4 separate regions of the Homo sapiens genome follow, and all the other regions are linked to region 2. The links are contacts of gene promoters, found by promoter capture Hi-C in blood cells and fetal thymus (Javierre and others, 2016). All regions are on one chromosome and are shown on one strand. The core of a region is centred on a gene start or on the middle of the fragment in contact, and the rest is flanking DNA. Distances in the headings are between cores, read along the strand shown.

What was found. Contacts are between HindIII fragments. The CHiCAGO score rates a contact against its expected background, and 5 or more counts as called.
Region 1: a contact is called between a fragment that was not itself captured here and the fragment with the promoter of OR6B2 in region 2, in 1 of 17 cell types (M0 macrophages). The highest score is 5.0, in M0 macrophages.
Region 3: a fragment that was not itself captured here is called in contact with the fragment with the promoter of OR6B2 in region 2 in 1 of 17 cell types (M0 macrophages); the score reaches 6.3 in M0 macrophages.
Region 4: a contact is called between a fragment that was not itself captured here and the fragment with the promoter of OR6B2 in region 2, in 2 of 17 cell types (M0 macrophages and M2 macrophages). The highest score is 6.1, in M0 macrophages.

Annotation. Positions count from the first base shown.
Region 1 is chr2:239,001,703-239,004,913 of GRCh38, forward strand. No RefSeq gene overlaps it. Among named protein-coding and RNA genes, the nearest start is that of MIR4440, 66 kb to the right of the region's middle. The HindIII fragment of the contact is 850 bases long and covers 1,411-2,260 here.
Region 2 is chr2:240,028,979-240,032,153 of GRCh38, forward strand. OR6B2 (olfactory receptor family 6 subfamily B member 2) reads right to left here and starts at 1,451. Exons shown (of 1, transcript NM_001005853.1): 1 at 513-1,451. The coding sequence starts at 1,451. The coding sequence ends at 513. The HindIII fragment of the contact is 5,761 bases long and covers 1-3,175 here.
Region 3 is chr2:238,984,982-238,987,867 of GRCh38, forward strand. No RefSeq gene overlaps it. Among named protein-coding and RNA genes, the nearest start is that of LINC01940, 60 kb to the left of the region's middle. RefSeq lists enhancers at 1-981, 982-1,962. The HindIII fragment of the contact is 2,614 bases long and covers 44-2,657 here.
Region 4 is chr2:239,019,139-239,022,244 of GRCh38, forward strand. No RefSeq gene overlaps it. Among named protein-coding and RNA genes, the nearest start is that of MIR4440, 48 kb to the right of the region's middle. The HindIII fragment of the contact is 1,972 bases long and covers 684-2,655 here.

The DNA.
Region 1 (3,211 bases), core at 586-3,085, 1.0 Mb before region 2:
AGTGACTATCCTTCATTTTTAGTCTACATTCGGCACTCTGGGTTTTTTCTAATGAAATCTAAAGTATCTACGTCCTTTTTCTAAACAAGGAACGTTATTTCCTGTATCTTGCCCTATCTTTGTTATTGTTATTGTTTATAAATGCACAAAGGTGAAGTGTTTTTACAGCGAGCAGGTACTTTATGGACACATTTGACCAGCAGCATGCAGAGATGGGGTTTATGTTTGGTCGACTTGCTCACAGTGGCTTCCGGCCCGAGGGTTGTGTCATTCCTGGGCTTGGGACCCTTCTTGGCGTTGTCTGTTCAATCTCACTCCCCCACCTGATGCTCCTCTTTCCCGGACCTCCTCCAAGACGGGCCAGAGTTGCCCGGCCAACTCTGCCAGTCTCTTGCCTGCTCTTTTGTGGTGATTTTCTTTTGAAATCTCAGTTGCTGTGTGATGCGTTCTTGGAGAATTCCTTACGTCCGTCTTCCGTTTCACCCGAGATCTGTTTGCCTGAATTTGCTGAGGATTTTATTGCATTTGCTGGTTTCCTTTTTATTTCAATGAGCATCTTTTTAATTTTCAGGTTTACTAATTAGATATTTTCCATTTCCATCAGTTCTGATCCTTTTCATTTCTGCCAAGTTTTGTGTATAGCCAATTACTCTTTTTAGGCTATTTCTTGTCTTTCCTCTTTAAGATGCTAAAAAACTTACTTTAAGGTCATTTTCCTGTTGCTGTGGTTCTCCCCCGTGTCCCTCTCCACACTCCTCCTTCTCTCCCTGTCCACGCCTCTCACATACACTCAACCCTGTCTGCCCTGAGGGTTTGCATCGGTCTTCGCCCAGCCTCCAGGGATGCCCTCCGTGAACCAGGTTTCATGTCCCACAGAGCATCGGCTAAATCACAAATAGAGTAATGGCATTGGTGGTGCCTTACCTGGGTCCTGGACAGGAGGCTGCTTCCTCTCACCTCCTGGTCCTTGAATCTGTGGAAGCTAAAGCCCGAGAAGCACTCAGCTGGAATTTTCTTTCTGTTCCCTCTCTGGGGTGGGGGTCTCTCTGTGCAGTCAGCTGGCCTCTGCTCCCAACCGTGGGGGCTGCACCAGGTGCCAGCACTTCCCCGACATTGGTTCCGGACCGGAAGCCCCATCTCAGACCCCACCCACGGGTTTTGTTCTGTCTGTTTTTGGTGTCTGTGATGCTTGGCTTGTTTTGTTGAAATATGTTTTCTCTAATGCTGCTGCGTATTCGGAGCAGAGAAGAGGCCTCAGTGCATGAACTTGTAGGGCCGTGCTGTCCAGAAATCCGGAAGTTTCATTTCTTTGTTTACATAAATCAACTTAAACCCAACTTGGAGCCCCACCCTGTGGGGCTGGCAGAAAATGCAACTCTCTCCCCTCCTAGAGTCCCTCCAGGATCCAGAAGCTTCCATGGTGCCCAGAAGAGCTGAAGGGCTGGGAGCTGTCACCACTGCCTCAGTGCCACTCGCACGCAAGTCCCGCTGCCCTCAGGCTGATGGCTGTTCCTCCACCCTGCCCGATGCCTGGGGATCCTTGCCGGGGATGAGAGCCTCAGGGCACAACATGGGCAGCCGTGTGCGCTCCACCCTCCCAGGCTGTGCCTTGGAGCTGTGCTCAGACCTCAGGTCCTTGGGGACACCAGCCTCCTCCTTTTCCCAGCCTCAGTGAATCTTGCCCTCTCCCTCCCACTCGCCTCCTGGGTTTGGGTTTTTATGAAATGGGTTTAGGTTTTTACAAAAGACAGAAAGAGCCTTTGGCTTTGAGCTGCTTTGGCGTTCTGCCTGGAAAAAAAATCCCCGAGGCAAAAAAATTACAAAGAGCCGGGTGATCTGCTTGAAATTGGATGAGGGGGAGAAATAAGAAAGCAAAACAAAGATTAATATCTCCACCCACCCCCTCAAAGTGTATTCCATCACACATCCCATTAAGAGCTGGCGAATGAATGGGCTGCCATTCTGAGAAGGGCCAATTCTTGGGGGAAACAGCTGGCAGTCACCACGTCCAGAAGCCGGCGATGTGGGGGCAACTGAGGCAGGGGCCACGGCCCAGCCAGTCGAGCAGAACTGGAAGGATCACAGCCCAGCCCCGGCTCGGAATGGCCCCTCGGCAACCACCCTGAGTTACCGACAAAATGCCGACGGACTGTTTCAAACTTGTATTCTCTTAAGCACGTTGGGAGAGTATGTTTCTGTGGTTTAGAACGCTTACTATCAAAAGAGCATTTTGAACATAATTTTGTCCCTTAAAGAGGTAAGCTTCAATTACTTGAGAACTTCATGGAAGCCTCGCATTTTGCAGCAATGCCGGGTCCGTGCGTACCATCGTCTGTCCTGGTTGTGTCTCTGTGTTCTCCATGTGAGAGGGCGGGGAGGGCCGACCAGGGCTGTTGAGGCTCAGGTTCCTCGCGAACTCTGCAGGGACTCCTGGGCACGCCACTCCCCTTTTGCCCCCCATGGCATTTATCTGTAAAGTAAGAGTTCTGCTGGGTTAAATGGCGCCACCTCCAAAAGATATGTCCAACAGGAACATCAGAGTGTGCCCCTAGTTGGCCCAAGGGCCATGTCATTAAGATAAGAATCTCGAGATAAGATCATTCTGGTTTAGGGTAAGCCCTAAACCCAATGCCAGGAGTCCTTAGAAGAGAAGAGAAGGGGAGAAGACACAGAGCCACGGGGAAGGAGGCCACGTGGAGACAGAGGCAGAGGTTAGAGTGATGCATCCAGCAGCCAGGCTTCCCCGCACCTGCCAGGAGCTGCAGAGAGCCCCGGAGAGATTCCCACTCACAGCCGCAGAAGAAACCAGCCCTGCCGCCGTGATGTAGGACTTCCGGCCTCCAGAACTGTGGGAGGACACATTTCTGTTGTTTGAAGCCACCCAGTTTGGGGTCATTTTTTATGACACCCCTAGGAAACTAATTCAGGAGGTTAAACTAAATCATTTCGAAGCCTCCTCAGAAATCTCCAGGCTATGGTTAGGAAGCGGGGTCCTGAATGTGGAATCCCTCTGAAGAACACAGCACACATATTCCCGTCTCCATCGTCTCCCTTCTCTCTGGAATCCGGGCCGGCCGAGAGGAAGCTGCCCTTCCCAGGCTGCTGCACCAGAGGACTGGGGGCCTGCCAGTGAAGCTTACAAGAGAAATGGCTGTAGGATGCAAAGATAGTTAGCCTGGGAAAGAGGAGACGTCCAGGGCCGTGGTAAGTT
Region 2 (3,175 bases), core at 201-2,700:
ATATGTATTATCCCAGTATGAATGTATTATGCATTGTGTATTATACAGTATAAATGTATTATTTATTATGAATATTGGATAGCAATGAGAATGCATGAATTATTGTTACATGCAAAAACATCAAGGATTCACTCAAGCAACACGGTGAATGAAAGAAGCTGAACATAACAGGGCACATACTTTATGTGTAAGCCCCTCAGAAACACCAATGCTAGCATCTGGTTTTGGAAGTCAGGACAGTGCTTTTTGTGGAGAAGGGTTAATGACTGGGAGAGGGCGTGAAGGCAGCTTCTAGTTCTTGATCTGGGAGCTGGTTCCATGAGCACAGTCCTTTTGTGAAAACATATGCAGACGAAGGCTTGTTACTTGTGCACAGTTGTGTAGGTTTGTTAAATTTCACTTAGTTCTGTAGGTTTGTTAAATTTAACTTAAAAATTAATTTAAAGAGCACAAAGTGCCACATACAATGTTGTTTCATCACTACAGATTTTACTCTAGGACATTTAGTTGTCTTAGTGTGAAGTTTGACCCAAGCCCAAGGCCTTTTTCAAGGCGTCCTTAAATTCCTTGTTCCTCAGGCAGTAAATCAAAGGGTTAATTATTGGCGTGACAACAGTGTACACGGCAGAGATGAGCTTGTTGGAGCTCTGGGAATCAATGGCTTGGGGCCGGACATACATGAAAAGCAAGGCTGTATAGAAGACGGTGACCACGGTGAGGTGAGAGGCGCAGGTAGAGAAGGCTCTCCAGCAGCCGGTGGCCGAGGGGATGCGCAGGACAGCCAGGGTGATGTGCCAATATGACAGTATGGTGGCCAGGAGCGGAAACACCAGGATGATGAAGGCCAGGATGAAATCCACCAGCTCTGCAGTGGAGAAGTCCGTGCAGGCCAGCTTGAGGATGGGGGAAATGTCACAGAAGAAGTGGTTCAAGACGTTGGAGCCACAGAACGTGACGCTGGAGATAAAACAGACCTTGATCATGGAGATGGTGAAGCCACTCACAAAGGAGAAGCCCACCAGCTGGAGGCACAGCCCCGGGGTCACAAGGACGTGGTAGCGCAGCGGGTGGCAGATGGCCACGTAGCGGTCGTAGGCCATGGAGGCCAGAAGCACACACTCGGTGCACACCAGGGAGCTGAAGAAGTAGAGCTGCGTCATGCACCCGACGAAAGAGATGCGTTTCTGCTGGAGGAGGAAGCCCTCCAGCATCTTGGGGGTGATGTCAGACACGTACCAGATCTCCAGGAAAGACATGGAGCTCAGAAAGTAGTACATGGGCCTGTGGAGGGAGGTGCTGCTCCAGACGATGAGGATGATGGCCAGGTTCTCCACCAGGACAAAGAGGTAGGTGAGCAGGAAGAGGAGGAAGAGCAGGTACTGCAGCCCTGGGGCCGTGGGGAGGCCCACCAGGATGAAGGTGCTGACCTTGGTGACATTCTCCCCACTCATGCCTCTGTGCTTGGGAGCTGCAGGCCTACAAAACATCAAAGAGCAAGAGGAAAGGGCTGCAGGGCAGCTGAGGCAGAGAGAGAGTGGAGCTGGACTTGGATGGGGAGTTTTGGTGCAAAGAGAGGCCACGTGGCTCCCCAGAGCACCAGGAGAGAGCAGTGATCTGCTGATCTTCTGAGTTTTAAAGTAGAAAACTTCTGTGTGCTTGCATTTACATATAACCATGAAGTAGGAATGAGGAAGAGAGTATATGCTGAGGAACAGAGCCGGGCAGCTCCAGGGTGGGCAAAACCCAAAGCTCTGAGTCCAGGGGCACTACCAGTCCACACGTGCCTGGGGCAGCTCTCAAGATCCAAGTGGGCATGGACACAGAGCTGGCCCTCCTTAGGGTCCTTCATCTGAGGGTTCCTGCAAGTCGGGGCAGCAGCCTCGGCATGAGGTGAGGGGCTATCAGCCTACCAGGGCAGAACCCCAAACTGGGCTAACCAGCCGGAGGAATGCAGGGAGGGCTCCCAGGAAAGGGCTGCCTGGCTCTGGGGGACCTGGTCCACAGGTGGGGGAGAGAGAGGGTAGCCACAGCCCCTTGCCCCACAGGGCATCTGGTGGTTCTTTTCATTGGCAGTCTAGGTGGGTTGAATGGCAGACTTCCACCAGCTCACAGCTGGGGAGGGTGACCCCAGGTTTCTGGCCCAGGATGCTAAAAATTGATGAGAAGACTAGGAGAGGGCCAGGTGGGTGCCGAATAATCTGGAGTCTGTGCTGGGGAGGCGTGGTGCGCGGCACTTACTGGAGAGCCTCATGGTGACGTGTAGGGGGTTGGCTAGACAAGTCGAGTTCATGGAAGAGTTGCAGGCTGAAAAACAAACTTCTAGAAGGGAATTGCCCAGGGACAGGTTTACACTTGGAAACGCACCTGTACTCCTGCCGTCTAGGGTGAGCATTCTGTGGGAACCCAAGATCATCCACTGGGGCGGCATGGCCATTCCCTGCCTTAAAATGCCAGCGTGCAGTTCAGAGTTTAGGATCAATTTCACAAGCATTTACTACTCACTCCAGTCACCGCCTACTGTCTCCCCAAAACAAAAGCAATAAGAACCCCTGCCATTAAAGGGGTCTCAAGATGTGAGTCTGAATGTAGCCTCTCTAGACACCATCCAGGGTGGTGACTGTGTCCTCTTCCCAGCTGAGTGGCCACAGGGGGCTTTAAAGTCCACAAGGAGGAAAGTTGGGGTCCACAGGAGCTCCTTGGAAGGCCAGCAGCCCCCACCTGTTGACTGGGTTTGCTGGGGAGAGCTGGCGGTGGGGGTAGTGAGCTTTGGTTCTTGTGCTTTTAACCCAGAACAGTAGAGGCACCTATAGATTTCTCTTGATTATTTGGATAGTGGTAACTGATCATTAGTGAGTTGGCTAGTTAATACCGGATTGATTCATTAAATTGAAACTGTGTTACTTTACAAATTCAGGGCCCTTTACAGCACACTCTATCCATCCCCTGAACTTGTTAGACAATGGCTGCATTTTCTTTTAAATAAACTTTTTATTTTGGAATAATTTTAGATTTACAGAAAAGTTACAAAGAGAGTGCAGAGAGCTCTGGGAGATCCTCCATTCAGCTTCCTCCAAGGCTAACTTCCTACATGAAGAGGGTATATTTGTCACAGTAAGGGATTGATATTGGTATTACTGTGGACTAAACTCCAGACTTTGGCTTTCATCTTTTTTTC
Region 3 (2,886 bases), core at 101-2,600, 1.0 Mb before region 2:
AGGACTCCTACGGGTGCCACCTCCAGAGCGGTAATCAGGGCTAAGCTTAATTAGAGAGAAAAACTTCCAGAAAGGGCAACTCCATCCCTTTTTATGGTAAAATAAACACATTTCCAAAAGGGGCCTTTCCTTTAATTAAATTCTCTGCAATGTGGCAGCTGCTTGGGAGGTATTTTTGCATATTTGGGTTTAAGAAGATGTATGTACATAGAGGTGATGTCACATTTGGAATGATGAGTGTTTATAAGACCAAGTTTATGAGTTTACTAACTCGCAAGCCAGCTATCTTCATACCAGAAAGGACAAAGCCAGCGTCCAAGCGTGGGCCTTCCCACGTCCAGCCATCTCGTAAAAACAGGCGAGGTGGGCCTCGGGAGAGACACAAATGTCAGGGGCGCAACACAAAAACCGAACAGGAATGTGGGGATGGGGGCTGCCGGCCCCTGGCGCTCAGCGGGAGGCCCCACCATAGAGCTGGGGCCCAGGGAGTTTGAGTATTTACCCCAGAGGTTACCCAGGATGGACGTGTTCAGTCTGGGCACACAATCAAAGCCCGCGCGGGCCCCTCAGGGAGGGTCTTTCCCCTCCTGCTGGGAGGCAGGGTCCCCAGCGCCCCCTGACCTCGCCCTTGCAATTGCTCAAACTTCAGGACCGCTCATCCCAGGCTCCACGGGGCTGCTGCAGAGCCAAGAAGACCCTGTTCTACTGAGCGACCGTTCAAGGGACAGTACTTTTTAGGGGGGTCAATATGAATCTCCTAATTTAACCTCTCCGCTGCCACAGCCATTCAACCCGTCCCTACAGAGCTCCTGCAGCGGTGCTCACGTGGCCTTCGGGAGGATCCACCAAGGTCACCTGCGTCACACCGGGGAACGACTCCCTCCCTCCCAAGAAAGCTCCGAGACAAAACCTGTACCAGGAAGGGTCCCTCGGCTCGTGGTGCTGCAGTGAGCCAGGCTACACCCTGGCTGGCAGAGCCCCGGGGCTTCCAGCAGCGCAGCCCTAGGCCTGCGGAGGGAAGGCTGCACTCCAGCCTGTCGGGGCCGCCGGACAGCTCTCCTGGGAGGCTTGGGCCTGGCACACTGGGGCCCTCGCTCCCCTCTCCATCGCCCTCTAACCTTGGTTCAGCTCCCGGCCCGCCCCTTCCCAGTGGGAACAAAGGCAGTAGCGATGTCCTCGCTGCCGCCTTCTTCCTCCAAGAGGAGTCCACTCCCTGCAGTCCGGCCCCGCTGCCTCTCCACGCGGGCTGCCTCTTTCTCATCCCTGCGCCGGCGCATCCTCTCAGATCCACAGCAAGGAGGGGACGTGCGGGGGAGGGGTCGGCTGGCTAAAACCCAGGCTCGCCCACAGAATGGTGGGACCCCTGCCTCAGGTGGTGGGAGATGCGTGCAGGGTCCCAGCCCCAGGGCAGGCGCCTCAGCCTCTGCGCGGGGCCGCCCTGCTCTTCCCTGGCTCGCTGGGATCCAGGCCCTGGTCTAAGCCCCTGGCCTCACCTGCCCTGCGCAACCAACGGCCCCAAGGTCCAAATGCAGGGACCCTCTCGGTGACCCAGGACGTGCTCAAGTTACCTTCTTCCTGGCACACACACCCACCCCTAAATTCAAAACTATCCCCGGCCATTTGGGAAGCAAGGCTCGCTCTCGCTCCCCTGGGGCTGTCTCCTTGCGCGGAGGGCTCCAAGCTCAGGGCGGGTCGGCTCAGGCAGGGTCTGGGGGCTCGGCGGGGCGCGGGTTCAGGCAGGCCCAGGGAGCAGGCGCATGGGGCGACCGCAGAGCTCCAGGACACACAGTCCGGGTCAGTGTTCCCTAGAGACCCCTCCAAGAGCCCCTCCTGGACACCTGTGCCGACGCGCAGCCACATTTGTCCTCTTCAGGTGGAAACAGGGCCAGTCTGACACTCCCCAGTCCACGCCCTGCACACCCCCAGACCCTCCACCCTTGAGGTGGACGCCGCCCTGAGAAACCCTCTCTCCTTCCTCTGGCAGCGTCACCTGCCGTCTGCACTGGCACCTGCCGCAGTTCTCTAAGTGCACCTGGGGACGCTCACTTGTGGCCTCAGGAGAAGGATCTGGAGGACGAGGAAGACAGAGGCAGGGACATTTTCTGATGCATCAGAGACCCGCGCCTACTGCGTTAGCCCCAGTAGAGACAGCCCTGGATTTTAGAGCCGGTAAAGCCTGGGGTCACTGTGGAAGGCTCTGTCCCGCTCCTGAGGAGACCCTCCCTCTTCTGCCGGGTTCAGGCGTGGAGATCAGAGGGCAGGCAGGGACCAGAGCATCTGACTCCCGGGACGCCTCACGACCCCGAGAGAGGAGCATAAATGTGGCCTAACAAGAATGCCCTTCTCACCCCCTTGCATCCTCCCCTCCCGCAAGCATCCCTGGTGAGGGGACAGGCAGGACACACCATTGAAACATAATTTGAGAACACAAGAAAACAATATGAGGCTGATTTCTTAGCATGCTGAATGGAGAGACGGTCAAAACAAAACAAAACAAAAAACAAACTAGATGGATTTCGCAACTGGAGGCGGAAGGAGCTTTGTAAGAGCCCAAGGAGAATCTAATTAGAGACTTCAACTAGAGTTTTGCAAATGAATTATTTACAATTCTTCAGAGGGAAATGATTATAATAATAACCTTTACAATGCTGAAATTAAGCTTATTATGCTCTTTTCCTCTGCCCCAGAAATTGTCTGAGGTCTGTCATCAGGCAAGATGCAAGGCGTAAGCTCTGCCTCCCGCTCCGGGCAGCGCCTGGGGCCAGCCTCGGGCCCTGGCTCAGCCCAGAGTCGGGGATGTGGTCAGCCAGGCGTTTAAAAGAGAAAGCCAGCAAGCGTCCTTTGCGTCTTTCCGTCCTTTGTTTCTCTCTTGTGACTTGAGGATGC
Region 4 (3,106 bases), core at 420-2,919, 1.0 Mb before region 2:
CCTGCACATACTCTCAATGAGCCCTGTCCCCTTCCTGTGCACACTGCACCTGGGCAGACACCCATGTGGGGGCAGGGAGGGGTGGGGGCCTGTTGGTAAGTGAGGTGGTAAACCCGGCCAGAGCACCTTCTGCTCAGCCTGGGTGCTCGGCCTGGAGACCAACGTGGCCCTGACCTTTCCAGGCAACTGGTCTCCACCTGGGAGTGCCCGTGGCCCCTGCCTGCCTGTCTCCTACAGGGTGGCCACCCTAAACTTTGCTCCAGGTTGGGCCCTCCTGTCTGTCCCTCACTGGACTGGAAGCATCCTGCAGGCAGGCACTGCCTCTGTGCCTTCACAGCAGTTGCTGAGCACCCAGCACTCGAAAGCACCATCACCTGGTGGGAAACTTTCTGGGAAAGTCCCTGAGGGTTCCCCGCAAAGCCACTTGGAGACACAGATGATCAGCCCCAGTCATGCGCTGCTGTGGATTTTGCACATGCAGTTGGTCTAGCCTCGGCCCCGCCATCACCTTGTCTTAACACCGGTTGTTATATTTAAATTCGTAACCTTTTTTCTTATTAAAAAACAATATGCATTTTTTGTTGAAAACTTAAGGAGCACAATTTTAAATAAGCAAAAAAAAATTTAAGTATAATTTTCATCTCACCACACAGAGCTAAGTGCTGGTAACATTTTGTTGATTAAGCTTTCAGACGTAGTCAATACACAAATCACTAACCTTTCAGTCCTGCCTAGTTGAGCCATTCTTACTGTATAAACTGACCTTTTTGGAGGGCATTTAACCTGCCTCCATTCTTTAACTATTAGAAACACAGAGTCCATCAATATCCTTGTGAAGCATGGTGCACCTCCTTAATGATCTCTAATACTTTTCTAAGTGTAGAAATTGCCATGCCCTCCATCTTCCTTCCTAAAATGTTCTAGGCTTGGACCAGACACTTTCTCTGGTCCTTCTGCCTCAAAAAAATCTCCCATTCGTGAGATAAGATTGGAACACCTTAATAGGGTGGGAAGTTTGGGTTTTTTTCTTGCTTGCTTAAAGAGTTAGGAGTCTTGTATTTTCACTGTACAGCCTCAGTGTGAAGGCCCTGCTGTGGGGGAAACTCAGGAAGAGAGCATCCTTTGAGCCCTCAAGGGCAAAAACAGGGACATCCCTTCAAAATGTTAGCCAAGTTTATGTCCTTCCTCCCTGAGCCCCAGTGAAATGACAGAAGAAGAAGAAGAAGAAACATAAGAACTAGTCCCTGACTGTGCTGGAAAAACAGATCAGGCTCTCCCCATCTCAAGGACAATGAGGAATTTCTAGAAACGAGAGTGGAAGTGATCAGCTTGGAAGCACCGCATCATGGTTGAACAGCTGTGGGTGCAAGGAGGGCAGTCTCCACGTGAGACAGAAGAGCCCTGGGAAACTCAGGCTCCGAGGCCACACTGAGAGTGGGAGGCGGCGGTCACTGGCCGGCAACCCCCACGGACTAGAACAAGGCTCTAAGGCAGGGCGCGTCGGGGAGGCCAGTTGGTGCCCGAGGAAGGGACTGAAGCTGGAGGTGAAGGGGAGCGGAGCCCCAGGGACCTGATGGCCACCAAACAAAAGGAAAATCCGGGCCCCCAGAGCAGCCTCCTGGAGACCGTCCCCCTCCTGCCTCCCTCTGGGGCAGGCTGTTCCCGACCTCAGAAAGCTGCACCAGTCAGAGGTGCATTTCCTATCCAGTCCACAGAGCTGCTTGTGAAGACAGAGGTGCAGAAAACCACTGGGCAGTGACAGTGACCAGCGGGTGTTGGGAGCCTGCTCGGCCACTCACCAACCAAGCAACTCACCCATGACGGCTCTGACCCCCCATATGCCAGGCCTCCGCATCACAGAAGTGACAGCTCCTGCTTGTGGTGGGCCTCTGGGATTGTCTAGGAGGGATGATGCTCCCAAGGCAGAACCCACAGCACCCAGGTTTTTCCCTCTGTGAAGGCTTCTAGGGAAGTGGGGCAAAAATATCTGTTGTTATCTTAAGGTCAGGCTGGTTTCTGCTTTGCTATGACTGCTAGGAAGCTCAGAGCCTAATTTGCAACTCACCCCTAGCAGCTATACAGGATCACTTGGTGTGCATTTGTGGTTCTCTTTTGATTCTTGGCTTCATCTTGATTTCTTTTCCTCTTATTTTTTTTTCCACCTCAATTTCACTCATAGTGTCTATCTTGTTAGCCAGTAGTGCCATAAAGTCTGGGGCTGGGGGTCGGGGGATTGCTCAGGACCCAGGGGCTGTCTTGGCTTCCATCTCCCACCGCAAGCCTCTCTGGTGCCGAGTTCAATTCAAGGACTGGGGATGCTCAGTGTTTGTAAACATCCCCTCAGACGGAAACCCAAATGGTGAAACTGGCTGCTTGCAGAGGTCTTTCCTCAGGGACACGCCCAGAGTCCTGGAGGGCGTTCCTGCTGTCCCTTTGTTCTCTCTCTCTCTAATGTTTCTACCTTTGTGTGTGTGCATCACAAAGGTGAGAAGCAGTCAAACTTGGGAAGAAGAAATGGCTGAAATGCTACCATTTACAGCTCAAGCCATGCTTCCTCGCTGACGTTGGCCGATGCGTGGTCAGAGTTGGTGCCACCTGCTCGATTTCACATGTTGTGGCCAATGACATCACCACAAAATGACCCAAGTGTCGGGAAGCTTAAGGGTGTCCAGGCATCCACCAGCGGGAAGGGTCGGTGAAGACTGGACAGCCACATCCACTTCTGAGCAGTGACCCTGTGGCCTTCAGCGGCTGGGCGGGGAGTAGGGAGGATGGTCCGCCAGCCACGAGCCCCACTGCAGCTTATCCGGGTCAAGAACACACCACACAAGCACTGCAGGGCCATGGCTGTTGGAACTACCCCTTGAGTCTGGGCAGAAACTGAGAGCAAGCATGTAGATACTTTGCTGTCCCTTGATGCGGCCAGGGCATTTTTGCCTGTATTTTATGAAAATATCAGTCCACAGTGGATTGGACATTTTAAAAAGCTGGTTCTTCATCACAGAAAGTTTGAGAAGCACATGTCTGAAAATATTGTAAGAAACACCAATATCAAATCCAGTAATAATCATATTCGCTGCCCTCGCTCTGCTTGTCCTCCCACAGG